Linked DNA regions of Homo sapiens: regions 1, 2 and 4 are each linked to region 3. Evidence: promoter capture Hi-C in 16 types of primary human blood cells and fetal thymus (Javierre and others, 2016). All regions are on one chromosome and are shown on one strand. The core of a region is centred on a gene start or on the middle of the fragment in contact, and the rest is flanking DNA. Distances in the headings are between cores, read along the strand shown.

What was found. Contacts are between HindIII fragments. The CHiCAGO score rates a contact against its expected background, and 5 or more counts as called.
Region 1: a fragment that was not itself captured here is called in contact with the fragment with the promoter of YWHAH in region 3 in 1 of 17 cell types (endothelial precursors); the score reaches 5.0 in endothelial precursors.
Region 2: a contact is called between a fragment that was not itself captured here and the fragment with the promoter of YWHAH in region 3, in 2 of 17 cell types (monocytes and total B cells). The highest score is 5.6, in monocytes.
Region 4: a fragment that was not itself captured here is called in contact with the fragment with the promoter of YWHAH in region 3 in 1 of 17 cell types (endothelial precursors); the score reaches 7.8 in endothelial precursors.

What each region holds. Positions count from the first base shown.
Region 1 is chr22:31,600,218-31,603,835 of GRCh38, forward strand. SFI1 (SFI1 centrin binding protein) reads left to right here. Exons shown (of 33, transcript NM_001007467.3): 16 at 1,995-2,076; 17 at 2,390-2,568; 18 at 3,527-3,602. Among named protein-coding and RNA genes, the nearest start is that of MIR7109, 20 kb to the right of the region's middle. The HindIII fragment of the contact is 958 bases long and covers 1,566-2,523 here.
Region 2 is chr22:32,406,451-32,409,960 of GRCh38, forward strand. It overlaps RTCB (RNA 2',3'-cyclic phosphate and 5'-OH ligase), which reads right to left. Exons shown (of 12, transcript NM_014306.5): 2 at 2,305-2,383; 3 at 1,725-1,792; 4 at 212-311. Among named protein-coding and RNA genes, the nearest start is that of RTCB, 4.0 kb to the right of the region's middle. The HindIII fragment of the contact is 2,309 bases long and covers 410-2,718 here.
Region 3 is chr22:31,942,498-31,946,000 of GRCh38, forward strand. It overlaps YWHAH (tyrosine 3-monooxygenase/tryptophan 5-monooxygenase activation protein eta), which reads left to right and starts at 2,038. Exons shown (of 2, transcript NM_003405.4): 1 at 2,038-2,323. The coding sequence starts at 2,237. It overlaps YWHAH-AS1 (YWHAH antisense RNA 1), which reads right to left and starts at 2,869. Exons shown (of 3, transcript NR_171018.1): 1 at 2,736-2,869. It overlaps LOC124900477 (a long non-coding RNA gene), which reads left to right and starts at 2,337. Exons shown (of 3, transcript XR_007068065.1): 1 at 2,337-2,738; 2 at 3,003-3,181. RefSeq lists enhancers at 500-1,357, 1,358-2,215, 2,959-3,008 and silencers at 1,479-1,628, 1,909-1,998, 2,009-2,228, 2,299-2,638. The HindIII fragment of the contact is 4,478 bases long and covers 1-3,503 here.
Region 4 is chr22:31,579,465-31,582,731 of GRCh38, forward strand. It overlaps SFI1 (SFI1 centrin binding protein), which reads left to right. Exons shown (of 33, transcript NM_001007467.3): 12 at 808-900. Among named protein-coding and RNA genes, the nearest start is that of MIR7109, 40 kb to the right of the region's middle. RefSeq lists a silencer at 419-713 and an enhancer at 2,928-3,147. The HindIII fragment of the contact is 1,989 bases long and covers 702-2,690 here.

The DNA.
Region 1 (3,618 bases), core at 795-3,294, 340 kb before region 3:
CAGTACTCTTTTTATAAATTGAGAAGAAAAAAATTCAGCCTCTTATATTTACCCACATATTTTCCCTTTCCAGTGTTCCTTGTGTCTTCCTGTACATTTGAATGTTCATCTGTATCATTTCCCTTCAGCCTAAAGATGATCTTTTAGTGTTTTTATACTAAGGTCAACTGGGGTTGAACGATCTCAGCTTTTGTGTCTGGTCTCTGCCCTCTGGCTGGGCCAGAGCTCCGTCTTTCAACCCTGTCCAGCTTCTGCTGTCTCTGTTCCCCTCTTGGCCCTGCAGCAGTCACTCTCTGCTAGGCCTCCAGGCCCTCATCTGAGGACCTGGGACAACCTCAGTAAAATTTTGGGTATTTCCCTCTGTTCAGCTGTCTCCTTTCTAGTACCCTGACCCCAAATTCCAGCCCCTCTGGCAGTCATGAACTCCAGTCTTTGCCTCCTCAGCTCACTGAGACTGAGGGAGGCTCTGCTTAGCCTCCCTTCCCCTCACTGTTTAGAAGGTGCCCCCAGGCAGAAAGTCTGGGCGGCCTAGGGGCTCACCTCGCCCGTGTCCTATCTTTTCAGCATCAGAATCTACACTTACTGTCCAGCGCCTGAAGACAGTTGCCATATGTATTTTGTCTAGTTTTGTCATATATGGCCAGAGGGCAGATCCAGGACCAGTGACTGTGTTCTGACTAGAAGTGGAATCTTTGCTTTAAGTGATGTGTCTTGCGTGTTAAATGTCAGGGGAGCAAGATCCCCCAGTGCTGAACATGGATCCTGTGGCTTCACCAACATGTAGCCCCTAGTGGCTGTTGGTCAATTGTCCCAGCACTGCTGCTGCAGGATTTGATGTTGTTAATGGTGATCTGTAGGCCTAGGCAGAGATGACAAAACAGTGGTTCCCAAACCTTTTTACTTTTCTTTACTTTTTTTTTTTTTTTTTTTTTTGCAACCTCTGTGGCCCAGGCTGGAGTGCAGTGGCACGATCTCGGCTCACTGCAAGCTCCGCCTCCCGGGTTCATGTCATTCTCCTGCCTCAGCCTCCCAAGTAGCTGGGACTACAGGCGCCCACCACCAGGCCCAGCTAATTTTTTATATTTTTAGTAGAGATGGGGTTTCACCGTGTTAGGCAGGATGGTCTCGATCTCCTGACCTCATGATCCGCCCACCTCGGCCTCCCAAAGTGCTGGGATTACAGGCGTGAGCCACTATGCCCGGCCAACCTTTCTACTTTTCTAATTCACCTGAAATACTTGTTTAAAATACTATTTCCTGGGACCCCCCCTCAGACTTGCTCAGTCAGCCTTAGGGGTCTGCCCCTTGTTTTTCAACAGGTCCCCAAAGCGTTGGTCAGCATGCACTGGAAAGGGCTCTCATGAACAATCCTTTATCAGTGCTGTTAAGTCAATATAGAATTAATGAAGACCTGGGGTCTCAGGGTCTGAGTCTTTTTCGTACGGTGTGAAGGCTTGGCTGATACCAGAAACAACCTGGAAAATGTTGGCCTTTTTAACAGTTTATGGTTTTTTGGCTGTCTGCTTTCCTTCCCTTTCTCTTTGTGTTGCTTTCTCCCTCATCTAAGCTTATTCACCTCTTTTATTTTTTTCAGAGACGGGGTCTCACTCTGTTGCCCAGGCTGGAGTGGAGTGGCGTGATCATAGTTCACCACAGCCTCAAACTCCTGGGCTCAGGCGATCCCCCCACCTCAGCCTCCCAGGTAGTTGGTACTACAGGCACACACCATCACACCCAGCAATTTTAAAATTTTTTTGTAGAGATGGAGTTTTGCTATGTTGCCCAGGCTGGTCTTGGCCTCCAGCGATCCTCCTGCCTTGGCCTCCCAAAGTATTAGGATTGCAGACATGGGCCACTGTGCCCAGCCACTTAATTCACCTCTTATACGATAGCATGGTATAAAAGGAAAAATCCAATTATTTGGAACTTCTAGTTCTGTTTGGGTTAATTTTTATGTTTGTTTTAAGTGCTTTACATTCTTCCTTGTTTTTTAGGGAGACATTAGAGAAGCAAGTATTTTCTCTCTGGAGGCAGAAGATGTTTCAGCATCGAGAAAACCGCCTGGCAGAGAGAATGGTAAATGGCTGTCCCTGAGGAGATGTGTGGAGGGGCAGGATCTGATTCAAGCCATTGCACTCACGGCCTCCCCTCCTCAGGAAGTTGCTCGGACCTCACTGGAGGGCCCCTGCCTGTGACTGTTGAGGCAGGGCAGGCTCTGGGGCATCTGTCCTTTCTCAGTGGAGCCTACAGACAGCTTCTGGGCTGGACCACGTCCTGACATCCATTCCTTTTGCCTTAGTCATTATTTGTGGCCTGTAAATTCTTTCCTGGCTTCTGTGCCTCTCTCCTACTTGATTTATTCTGTTCTCTCCTTCCTGTCCTGCCTCAGGCCATCCTTCACGCAGAGCGACAGCTTCTGTATAGGTCTTGGTTCATGTGGCACCAGCAGGCAGCAGCACGTCACCAGGAGCAGGAGTGGCAAACAGTGGCCTGTGCCCACCACCGCCACGGGCGGCTCAAGAAAGCTTTCTGCCTCTGGAGGGAAAGTGCCCAAGGGCTCAGAACAGAGTGAGTGGCCAGTTCTGCCTTACAAGCCTTTCCATCACAGGCCAGCTTTGCTTGTTCTAGCAGCACCATGAGCTCCAAGTGCCTGTCTGGAGGACTGCATTACCCCAGACTCTGGTTGTAAGTTCTGGAAGTTCAACCTAAAAGAGTCTTAAGTAAAACTAGGTTGGCCGGGCACAGTGGCTCACGCCTGTAATCCCAGCACTTTGGGAGGCTGAGGCGGGCAGATCACCAGAGGTCAGGAGTTCGAGACCAGCCTGACCAACATGGAGAAAACCCTCTCTATTAATAATACAAAAATTAGCCAGGCGTGGTGGCGCAAGCATGTAATCCCAGTTACTCAGGAGAGTGAAGCACGGAAATTGGCATGAACCCGGGAAGTGAAGGTTGCAGTGAACCGAGATGGCACCGCTACACTCCAGCCTGTGCAACAGAGCGAGACTCTGCCTCAAACGAACAAAAGTGACCATAGCCAGGGAATAAACTGATGGGCCCATATTGTGATAGCTGACTGCTGCAGATAAGGGATAGGGACAGCAGCTGTGGCCAGTGGGTGGGTTGTGGCAGTTTTTAACCACACCACGTAGTTAAGAGAGAGGAGGGGAGGCAGCCCAGTCACTATAGAGACTGTCCTGCTTTGGGGCCTTTCAGTGTCCACTGTGTGTTCTGAGGATCTCACTCCCTGTCGCACACTGACCATGTTTAACCAGTTTCTCAGTTGGGGGCTTCACACCTGCACATGTGAGCTTCAATGGCACCTGAAGCCCTGGGAAGTTGTAGGCCAAAATTTGATCATAGGTGCTTTTTTCTGAGACTGCAAGTTCTTTGGCAGCTCTTCAGAGAGGGTCTTGGCTCCCCCAAAAACTTAACCAGGTAGGGCTATGGACTATGAGGAGGAACCCATAGAGGGTGCCCTCACTGGGTGGGGGCTGCAGCACTGAGCTCTGCCATCTCCCCACAGGAGGACGGGCAGGGTGCGGGCAGCAGAATTCCACATGGCCCAGCTCCTGCGTTGGGCCTGGAGCCAGTGGAGGGAGGTAAGGCTTTGGTGCG
Region 2 (3,510 bases), core at 314-2,813, 460 kb after region 3:
TAGCTGGGAGTACAGGTGCGCGTCACCACCCCCAGCTAATTTTTCTATTTTTAATAGAGACACGGTTTCACCATGTTGGCCAAGATGGTTTTGATCTCTTGACCTCATGATCCACCCGCCTCGGCCTCCCAAAGTGCTGGGATTACAGACGTGAGCCACCGTGCCCGGCCAATGCTACACACTTAACAGCAGATGTCCACAGTGATCTTACCTGGGGATACTACTGCTTCAGGGTCATTCATATCAAAGGCTGCCATGTTCCCAATAGCAAACCCATATCCTGAATGGACATCAGGAAGCCCAATAGATCGCTGAAAAAGAATTAGAAAATGAAATACAAGTGTCTTGACCTGCTACCCTGGATGCCCTGATGGACCTGACACTGATTCTCAAACAGGTTGCAGGCTGAAGCTTTCCCTAAATCAAGACTGTGTTTTCACAAAATCTTCTATATGCATGGAAATAGTAAGAACTCCTAATCACAAAGCTAAATACAGTGAGAAAAAAACTTTTTTATAAGATCTGAATGTTAATTAAGGAAATACAAAACAGAAAAGCCTCAAAATAACATGATATAGGAGTAACACATACTAAGTTTAATGTACTATTACATTTTAAAAATAATCTTAAGACACTGACAAACTTTGGTTTGTCAGGTTAAGAAGAGGAAAATAACTGATTTATATAGGTCATTAGTTTAAGTAATCACAGCCAAATGTAATCCATTTGATGGTATAAATACTGTAGACTTCCTACATGTGGAGCCTAGAAAAGGACCCTGACCCAGGAAGAATGCAGGTCAAACACAGGATATATGGAGATACCCAGACACTAACAACTTCCTTATATACACAAGCCATACCATTTCATTCCCTCTACCAAGTGCCCAACATGGTAACTGGCATAAAGAAGACCTCAAAAATGTCTGCCGAATAGATCCATTTTCAACATCTACCTCTGATAGAATATGAATGTTAAACTGTGGTGGGGGCTATGCTGTCCTCTCTTCCTCCCCCTCAGTGCTAACCCTTAAACTTCTTGCCATTTCTTCTTCAATGATCCTCTGCATAGGAAGTGAAACTTACAACCAAGCGAAACTTACAATGAAACTTACATTGAAACAGTGAAGTGAAACTTACAATGAAACTTACAATGGTGGTGCACTGATCCAGGAATAATGTTACCATGATAAGAAACAAAACACAAAAACTACTTCGAAGGTTCTTAACACTTACAGATTCTAGCCAAATGCATTCAGAAACTGAAATACCATCCAGATTCAATTATTTCTTTAGGTCCATGGTTATTTCCTTTTATTTTTTATTTTTAGGGACAGGGTCTCACTCTGCCATCCACGCTAAAAGTGCAGTGGCGTGATCATGGCTCAGTGCAGTGTGGAACTCTGGGCTCAAGCAATCCTCCCACTTAGCATTCTAAGTAGCTGGGACAACAAGCATGTGACATCACACCTGACTAATTTTTTTGGTATAGACAGGGTCTTGCCATGTTGCCCAGACTAGTCTTGAATTCCTGGGCTCATGCAATCCTTCCATCTTGGTCTCTCAAAGTGTTGCGGGTGGCATGAGCCACTGAGCCTGGCTTCATGGTTATGTCTGGCTGTCCAAAGGTCATTGTCTAAATGACACCACTATCAGGCATGGCCATTCATCCATTCAATGGACTTTAAGAAATATAAATGATTAAAGTTCTGAACTCTGACTCACATGAACAATTCCAGGCAGGGCTGCCACATTGCCAATCTGTTTCATGGCTGGCAGGAAGCCACCAACACCTGAAGACAAAAATTGGGTATTAGAAAAGACAACACACTTGATTTTTAGCATGAATTATATTCATGTTTTTAGACTGTATAACGTGAAGAGGTAGTCATTAGGGCTACTAAGACAACAAAGCCTAGAAGGATGTTTGAGATGCAAGATGGAAGGGAGCTCCTTTTAGAGTCACTGTAAGTATTGCATGAGATAATCTCTGCAAAGCACCTAGTAACATGCCTGGAATATAGTAAGTGCAAAACAAATGGTAGGTCACTTGCTATTATTGTTCAAGGTTAGCTGAGAAACAAGTTCTACCCAGCTTCAAATTCCAGATGGAGCTTCAAATCCGTTCTATAACGCCAACTGGCTGACAATGTGATCACAAATAAGTAAGTGCTTTTGGTCTTACTTTTAAGTTGTAATCACTCCTTGACAATATTTCAGAATTATAATTATTTGAGTTGCCACTTTTTCAGGCCACAGGGAAGGCACTACCGTACTAACACAAGTGAAACTCTAATGTACTTACCACCACCTCGACAGGCATTCCTTAATTCCTCAAACATCAATTTCTCCAGAGCATCATTCACATAGAAAACACCTTCAACCTAGTACCAAGGAAAGTGAAAAGCAATGTCTGAGTACATGCGCGGCAAGTGTAGGCACTGGACAGAATGCACTGTATGCAATATTTACTGTGCTTTACTCTTTACCAAACACTTTCACGTTACCTTAAGCACACAGAAAACTTCCTATCAAAGACTACGAGCTGCTCCCATCGGAAAATATACCTTAAGAAAAATTCTGCAATGTTCACAAATTGTTTTGTTTATTCTCATACCCTCAAAACCACATTTAAGAATTCAACAGATTCAGCATCTTTTTGTGATAAAGAAAAATCTTCCAACTATACTCTCACAAAGCCCAAAGGTCTTAATCCTCAAGCTTCAAAAATATCAATGGTTTTTTGAAAATTAAAAAAAAAAACCAAATGAATCAAAAAGTCCAATTCTAAACATAAAACGTAGTCATCTAACCTAGTATGTTTATTCTGTGTTTAAGCCAATAGCAAATTACATTTTATTGTGCTCTAGTGGTGACTTACAAATCTCTAGTTAGGTAAATAGTGAGAAGAAAAATTTAACATGCAGCTACGTAGTTGTGTGCTCAGTTCTGAAAGCTATATAATTTTTTAAAAAATCTATAATTTTAAAGCTTGACAATAGAGGCAGCACACAGAAGGCAATGGACGACATACTTATGTAACACTAAAGAGCAGAACATTTTTATCACAGGTCAAATATTGTGAAAGAGCTGTCCAGTAATGGAGAACCAAAGATTTAACACTTAATCAATTGAATGTAGTTTTTATCAGAAAGATGACTTCATCACCATTGCATAAATAACAATTTAATACCCACTGATGGAAAATATTTCCAGTATAATTTCTTAAGGGTCACATTTATTAATTCACCAAACATTAACTGAGGATTTACTATGCATGAAGCACTGTCCTGGGCACTAGGGGAGATAGAAAGAATATAAGATCTTCCTTTCAAGGAGCTCCCAGTACACAATACAGCTCTTATATACTTTTGTTTTTTTTTTTTGAGACTGAGTCTTGCTCTGTCACCCAGGCTGGAGTGCAGTGGCATGATCTCGGCTCACTGCAAGCTCTGCCTCCTGGGTTCACGCCATTCTCCTGCCTCAGCCTCCCGAGTAGCTGGGACTACAG
Region 3 (3,503 bases), core at 788-3,287:
CTCTACCTAATTTTCACTGTTTTGAAATCAATCTTAGTCCAACCTCATCAGAAAAGCTGGAAGGGCTCTAAGCCCTCTAAGAGCTAGAAGGAACCGAGGAGGTCCCCCCATCCAGGGCTGGCCCTCCTCCCATCTCTCACTGGGACCCCATCCTTATGGGGGGTGGAGTGGATGATTCATTACTATCTAGCATGCTCTTTAAATATATTCACTAGGGGAAAGATTAGCCTGGTTTGTTAACCTCGATTCCAACAGCAAAAGTGACTCTTCAAAGCATGGTGAAGCCTGGGGTAGTGGCCTCCTCCTAGACCCACATTCAAATCCTGTTTCATGGGCCCCCAGAAGTGTGATCGTTTCAGCATCATAGCAGGAAGAGGAAGGCCTGGGAGGCAGGAAACCTGGTATGGAGACCCCAGCTCTGCTCACTCGCTGTGCAAACTAGGGCCAGCCCCTCCTTTCCCTCAGACCTCAGTTTCCCGTTATTCAGGATAAGGGGTTAGACAGGGGTGATTCTAAGGGTCCTGCCAGCTCTGACATTTCAGCATGTGGATATCTATTCTAAAGTCCTTGAAACAGTTAAGTCCAATTCTCCAGATGGAAAACAGGTCCAGAAAAGGCCTGGTCTCCAGTTCCCTCCCTTCTCCCTTCGAACATGTCTTACTCTCTAGAGCAAGATTCCAGGCCTGAAATATGGCTTCCCAATTACCTAAGGATGAAGCCTCAAATCTTTGGCCTGGCATTTAAAAGACTCCGTAATCTTGTTTTACCCAACCTCACTTCCCATTCTTAGGCCTCTCTTCTCACCATCTCCCAGGTCACTGCCAAGCCTTTGCCAATGCTGTACCCCAGGCCTTAATCTTTTTCCTGACTCTCCTTCAAGATCCAGCTTATCCCTGTGGGCTGAGCATGCAGTAGATGCTCAATAAAATTCTCAGCGAGCCCAAGGCCCCCTCTCCTGCACTGCCCTTGGCGTGTTGAAATCAAGTGGGGGCCTTGTTTTAATCATCATTTTCCTAGCTTGTCGGGCAGCCCAGTCCAGGGCCTGGCACAAGGGACCCTCAGCATCCAATACCAGCCAGGATTGGGAGGGGCTCAGTGACCAGCCAGTTGGGCCACCCCAGCTCTTTGCCACAAGAGAAAGTTCAGCCTGGGTTTGGACTCAGATCCTGGCCCCACCACTTACAGGCTGCGTAACCCTGAGCAAGTCACTAACCTCGCTTTTCCTCAGGTTCCACGTTTTAAATATGGGGAGACCAGCTGTGCCCACTGTGGGCTGGGTAGTGAGGATTAAAGAGGAGGATGCTTGTACGGGACTAGCACTGGGCTGGCTCCTAATGTGTCCTGAATATTACTTGTCCCGCCCTGGCCACCCAGTCCCCTCCTCTGGTGGAAGGCACAGCCTGCCCAAGGCTACGTCTCAGGTTGGGTTCGATTGTGTGTGTCTGTGTAGCGGGGCTGTCCCCGAGGGTCGGACTCGATCCTGCCCGGACCAGTACAAGGTGTGGCCCAGCAGAACGCATGGACAGGCAGGGCTCGGGGCGGGCGGGACGGCTGGGGCGGGGCTGGGCGGACCCGCCCCTCGGGGCACGCGGTCTCCCGGCTTCTCCGCCAGTATGTTTGCTTGCTTTTGGGGCCCTTCTCAAGCCAGATCTCTAACGTGGATGGAGTGGCGCGTTTCAGGGTGGGGCTATGACAATGCACTGCCTGTGCAGCCGCCATCACCGCGCCCCCTCCACCGGCTCCGCAGTCTCCTGCCCGGCTTTCCCTTCTCCACCTCCATCTCTGCGGCGGTAAAATGCAGCACTCGCAGAGCGCCTGCGCGGCTTTCAGGCCGGGCGGCGGCGGCGGCGGTGGCTATTTATAGTAGGTGACGTCACCTTGAAATAGACCGTTAGGGCCGGCCCGCCCTTCCCCCCTCCCACTCCCGCCGCTCCCCGCCGCCCGGCCTGGCCACTCTCACTGCGCAGGCGTCGTCCCGTCCTCCCATCCCCCAGCGCGGCCGCGTCTCCTCCCTCGGCGTTGTCCGCGGCGCGAGCCACAGCGCGCGGGGCGAGCCAGCGAGAGGGCGCGAGCGGCGGCGCTGCCTGCAGCCTGCAGCCTGCAGCCTCCGGCCGGCCGGCGAGCCAGTGCGCGTGCGCGGCGGCGGCCTCCGCAGCGACCGGGGAGCGGACTGACCGGCGGGAGGGCTAGCGAGCCAGCGGTGTGAGGCGCGAGGCGAGGCCGAGCCGCGAGCGACATGGGGGACCGGGAGCAGCTGCTGCAGCGGGCGCGGCTGGCCGAGCAGGCGGAGCGCTACGACGACATGGCCTCCGCTATGAAGGCGGTGAGCGCGCCGGGAGCCCGGGCGGCTGGCCGGGGGGGGCCTGGCGTTGGGGAGGGACGGGGATGGCCGCGGGCGCGTTCCCCTCCCGGCCATGGGCGACCCGGCGACCCGGCTGGGCGTGGCCGCCCGCCCGCCCTTAGCCCGCGCTTCCCGCTCCCGCTGGGCGCCCCGCCACTTCCTGAGGCTGGGCCCAGGGTGGGGGATCCGGGAGGGTGCAGTTCGGGATCGCGAAGGCAGCCCCGGAAGGGGGGCGGGCCGGTCGGGGTCGCCACATCTTAGTTCGGAACCCGGCCGGGGGCAGAGGGTGCCCTAGGGGACGCGAAGGAGCCGCATTTCTCCTAGAGCGTTTCACCGGACCCGGGGGCTCCCCCTCTCGTCTTCCTCCGTTCCCCAACTTGGAATAAAGAATCACCTAGTAAGTGGCGCCCTGTCTCAGCTGGTTTTCTCTGCCACGACCTGAAGTCTGCAATTCCGATCTGTTTTGCTCTGCTCGTTCGAATTGTTCTGGTTCCATCTTCCCACGCCTGGGGGTCTGGCTTTGTGTGCGAAGACCCCTTTCCTGCAGTCTAGGCGTGGACGGGGGCGGGAGAGTGGGCGGAGGGTGTGGGGCCCCACTCCACAGCCCCAGGTTTGCTGCTGCGCTGTCTGCTTGGAGATTAAAATGAAACGTGACTTCTAGGTGAGACGAATCTGTGTGTCTTTGCATTCCTGAGACCCTCATAAATCGATTCTGCAGCTTCTCCGGTGGATGAGTCGTGCCCAGCCACACCCTAGCAAAATACCGTGGGTCACACACCACCTGCATTTCTGAGTTCCGGTTACCATCTCACTCTCTCTCCACGTTATTTTACGTTTTCTGTAAATGAATATTTCCTCTCCCTGCGTCAAGGTCACACAGTGGTAGAACAACTGCGACCACCAACCTATGTTCAGTGTACAACCTCCTGAGACCTGGGAGGATCCCCTTGAACTCCGCCTTAGACCTATACATTCAGAAATTCGGGCGGTGAGACTCAGACATCTGCATTGTAACCAGCTCTCACAGGCGATTTTTAGCTGGCTTAAGTCTGAGAATTACTGCCCATGATTATAGTAAATGTATCCTTTGCTGGCCTTTTGGAGGGAGTTCCGAAAAAAAACTGCCAATACAAAGGCTCCCTAAAATCTTAAGTCATTTGGA
Region 4 (3,267 bases), core at 446-2,945, 360 kb before region 3:
GCCACCACACCCAGCTAATTTTTTGTATGTTTAATAGAGACGGGGTTTCACCATGTTAGCCAAGATGGTCTCGATCTCCTGACCTCGTGATCCGCCCGCCTCGGCCTCCCAAAGTGCTGGGATTACAGGCGTGAGCCACCACGCCCGGCCTAATTTTTTAGTTTTTTTATACAGACGGAGTCTCCTTCTGTTGGCCAGGCTGGTCTTGAACTCCTGTGCTCAAGCAGTCCTCCTGCCTCAGCATCCTAAAGTGTTGGGATTACAGGTGTGAGCCACTGCACCTGGCCTTTTAGGCATTATTGATGGAGCTGGATCCAGGTCCATCCTGGCCCAACTCCAACCCTTCCTTTCACTAAAGATTCCTTCTTCCATTTTAGCAGCACTGCATTTATAATCATACAAATGTATGCACTGAGCCCACATGGTAAAAAAACAAAAACCACCACAGACAAAAAGTCTGTCTTCTCCTGAGAGGCAACAGTTGATGTTTACCTTGGTCTGTAGAATTGTCATGTGGGTCATGGGGTTCTTTCCTGGTGTGGGTGTGTTTGTTCTTGTGCAGTATAGATGGACAGCAGGGAGGGTTCAGCAAATATTTATTAAGTGCCTGCTGTGCAGGCTGGCTTGTGTTAGGCTCCCAGTTGAATCTCAAAGCAGAGAAACACTCAGGGAGATGGAACAGCTACAAGAAGCTGTGACCAAGCTTCTCCCCGCTGATTTGAGGCACTGTTTGCCTTCCTCTACTCTTAGTTTACAGACTCTACTGATCCCAGTCCTTGTAATCAGTTGTGTCCTTTCTTTGCACAGTATTTTTGCTTTAGAGCCCTAAAAGACAATGTGACCCACGCTCATCTCCAGCAAATAAGAAGGAATCTTGCTCACCAGCAGCATGGTGTCACGGTGAGGGTTGTCTTCTGTATCAAGGGACCTCTTCTGAAGGCCATTCTCTCTCGCTCTTTTTTTCAGTCTTGCCAAATTAAGCAGAACTCTTTTTAAAAAAACTTTTTGTGCTTCAAGATTTGTCCAGACTGTCAACTGTAAAACCTTAGTTTGCATTTTCTTTCTTTCTTTTCTTTTCTTTTTTTTTTTTTTTTTTTTGAGACAGTCTTTCTCTATTGCCCAGACTGTAATACAGTGGCACGATCTCAGCTCACTGCAACCTCCGCCTCCCGGGTTCAAGCAATTCTCCTGCCTCAGCCTCTTGAGTAGCTGGGATTACAGGCATGCGCCACTACACCTTCCTAATTTTTGTATTTGTAGTAGAGACGAGGTTTCACCATGTTGGCCAGGCTTGTCTCGAACTCCTGACTTCAGATGATCCACCCGCCTCAGCCTCCCAAAGTGCTGGGATTACAGGCGTGAGTCACCATGCTCGGCCTTTTTAGTTTGCATTTTCTTTGGTAATCCATACCTGCTGATAGAAAAACTTGTTTGATCCCATTTTTTTATCTATTTGCCAAGAAATGGATAGTTGACTCAAAGTTCAGGGACTGTGGATTTTAAACCTGACCTAGGGGATATAGTGATACAAATACTTTCTTTTTTTCTTTACTTATTTAGAGGCAGGGTCTTGTTCTGTCACCCAGGCTGTAGTGCAGTAGATCACTGCAGGTTCAAGTGATCCTCCTGCCTCAGCCTCCCAAGTAGTTGGGACTACAGCTGTAAGCCACCACACCCAGCTAATTTTTGTATTTTTTGTAGATGGGGTCCTACTATGTTGCCTAGGCTGATCTCAAACTCCTGGGCTCAAGTGATCTGCCCACCTTCGCCTCTCAAAGTGCTGGGATTACAGGTGTGAGCCACCGCACCTGGCCCAAATATACTTTTTTTTTTTTTGAGACAGGGTCTTGCTCTGTTGCCCAGGCTGGTGTGCAGCTGCAGTGGTGCGATCTCAACTCACTGCAACCTCCACCTCCCAAGTTCAAGCGATTCTCATGTCTCAGCCTCCCAAGTAGCTGGGATCACAGGTGTGCACCACCAAGCCCAGCTAATTTTTTTGTATTTTTAGTAGAGACGGGTTTTTCCCCATGTTGGTTGGGCTGGTCGCAAACTCCTGGCCTCAAGCAATCCACCTGCCTCGGCCTCCTAAAGTGCTGGGATTACAGACATGAGCCACCATGCCCGGCCCCAATAGGAGGCTTTGGTTGTGTTTCTATTGTAAGTCTATTCACTTCCATTGTAAGTCCATTATAAAACAATGGTTTGTTTACTTGATGCCAACATATATTGTCTCTACTTTCTTGGTGTAGGATTTTTTTCCCTGTTACTATTTTATGAAAAATGTTTAAACATACAGAAAAATAGGAAAAAAAAGTATAATAAGCCTCTATATAGTCACTACCTGGATATAGTAATTGTTAATATTTGCTATGTTTGCCTCATTGTTTTTTGCTGAATAATTTCAAAGTAAATTATAGACATCATGACACTTTGCACCTAAATATTTCAGCATGCGTCACTCAGAGACATTTTCTTATGTAACGACAATGTCATTATCATCCCTAAGAAAAGTAACAGTGATTCCCTAACATTAATATCTAGTCAACATTCAAATTTCCATAGTTGTCTTAAAAATGTCTTATTTGTAGCTGCTTTTTACAAACCAGAATGCAGTTAAGGATCACTAACTCCATTTGGTTCTTTTCTGATTGATTTTTAGCAGAAATGGATTTTGTTGCTATATTTCTTAAAGCTTTTAATCTAGAACTTTCCTTCCCCCAACAACACTTCTTTATTACATTTTATATATATATATATATATATATATATATATTTTTTTTTTTTTTTTTTTTTTTTTTTTTTTGAAACCGGGTCTCGCTCTCGCCCAGGCTGGAGTGCAGTAAGTAGCTTGATCTCGGCTCACTGCAACCTCCACCTTCCGTGTTCAAACTGTTCTCCTGCCTCAGCCTCCCAGGTAGCTGGGACTACAGACGCACACCATCACGCCTGGCCAATTTTTGTATTTTTAGTAGAGATGGGGTTTCACCGTGTTGGCCAGGCTGGTCTCAAACTCCTGACCTTTGGTGATCCTCCCACCTCGGCCTCCCAAAGTGTTGGGATTACAGGCGTGAGCCACGACACCCGGCCTATTATATTTTTTAATTGTGGTAAAAGATACATCACTTAAACTTTATCACCTTAACCATTTTTAAGTGTACAGTTCAGTGACATGTACATCCACATTGTGCAATCATCATCACTATTCATCTCTAGAACTTTTTCATCTTGCAAAATTGAAACTCTGTACCCATTTCCTCTTTCCTCAGC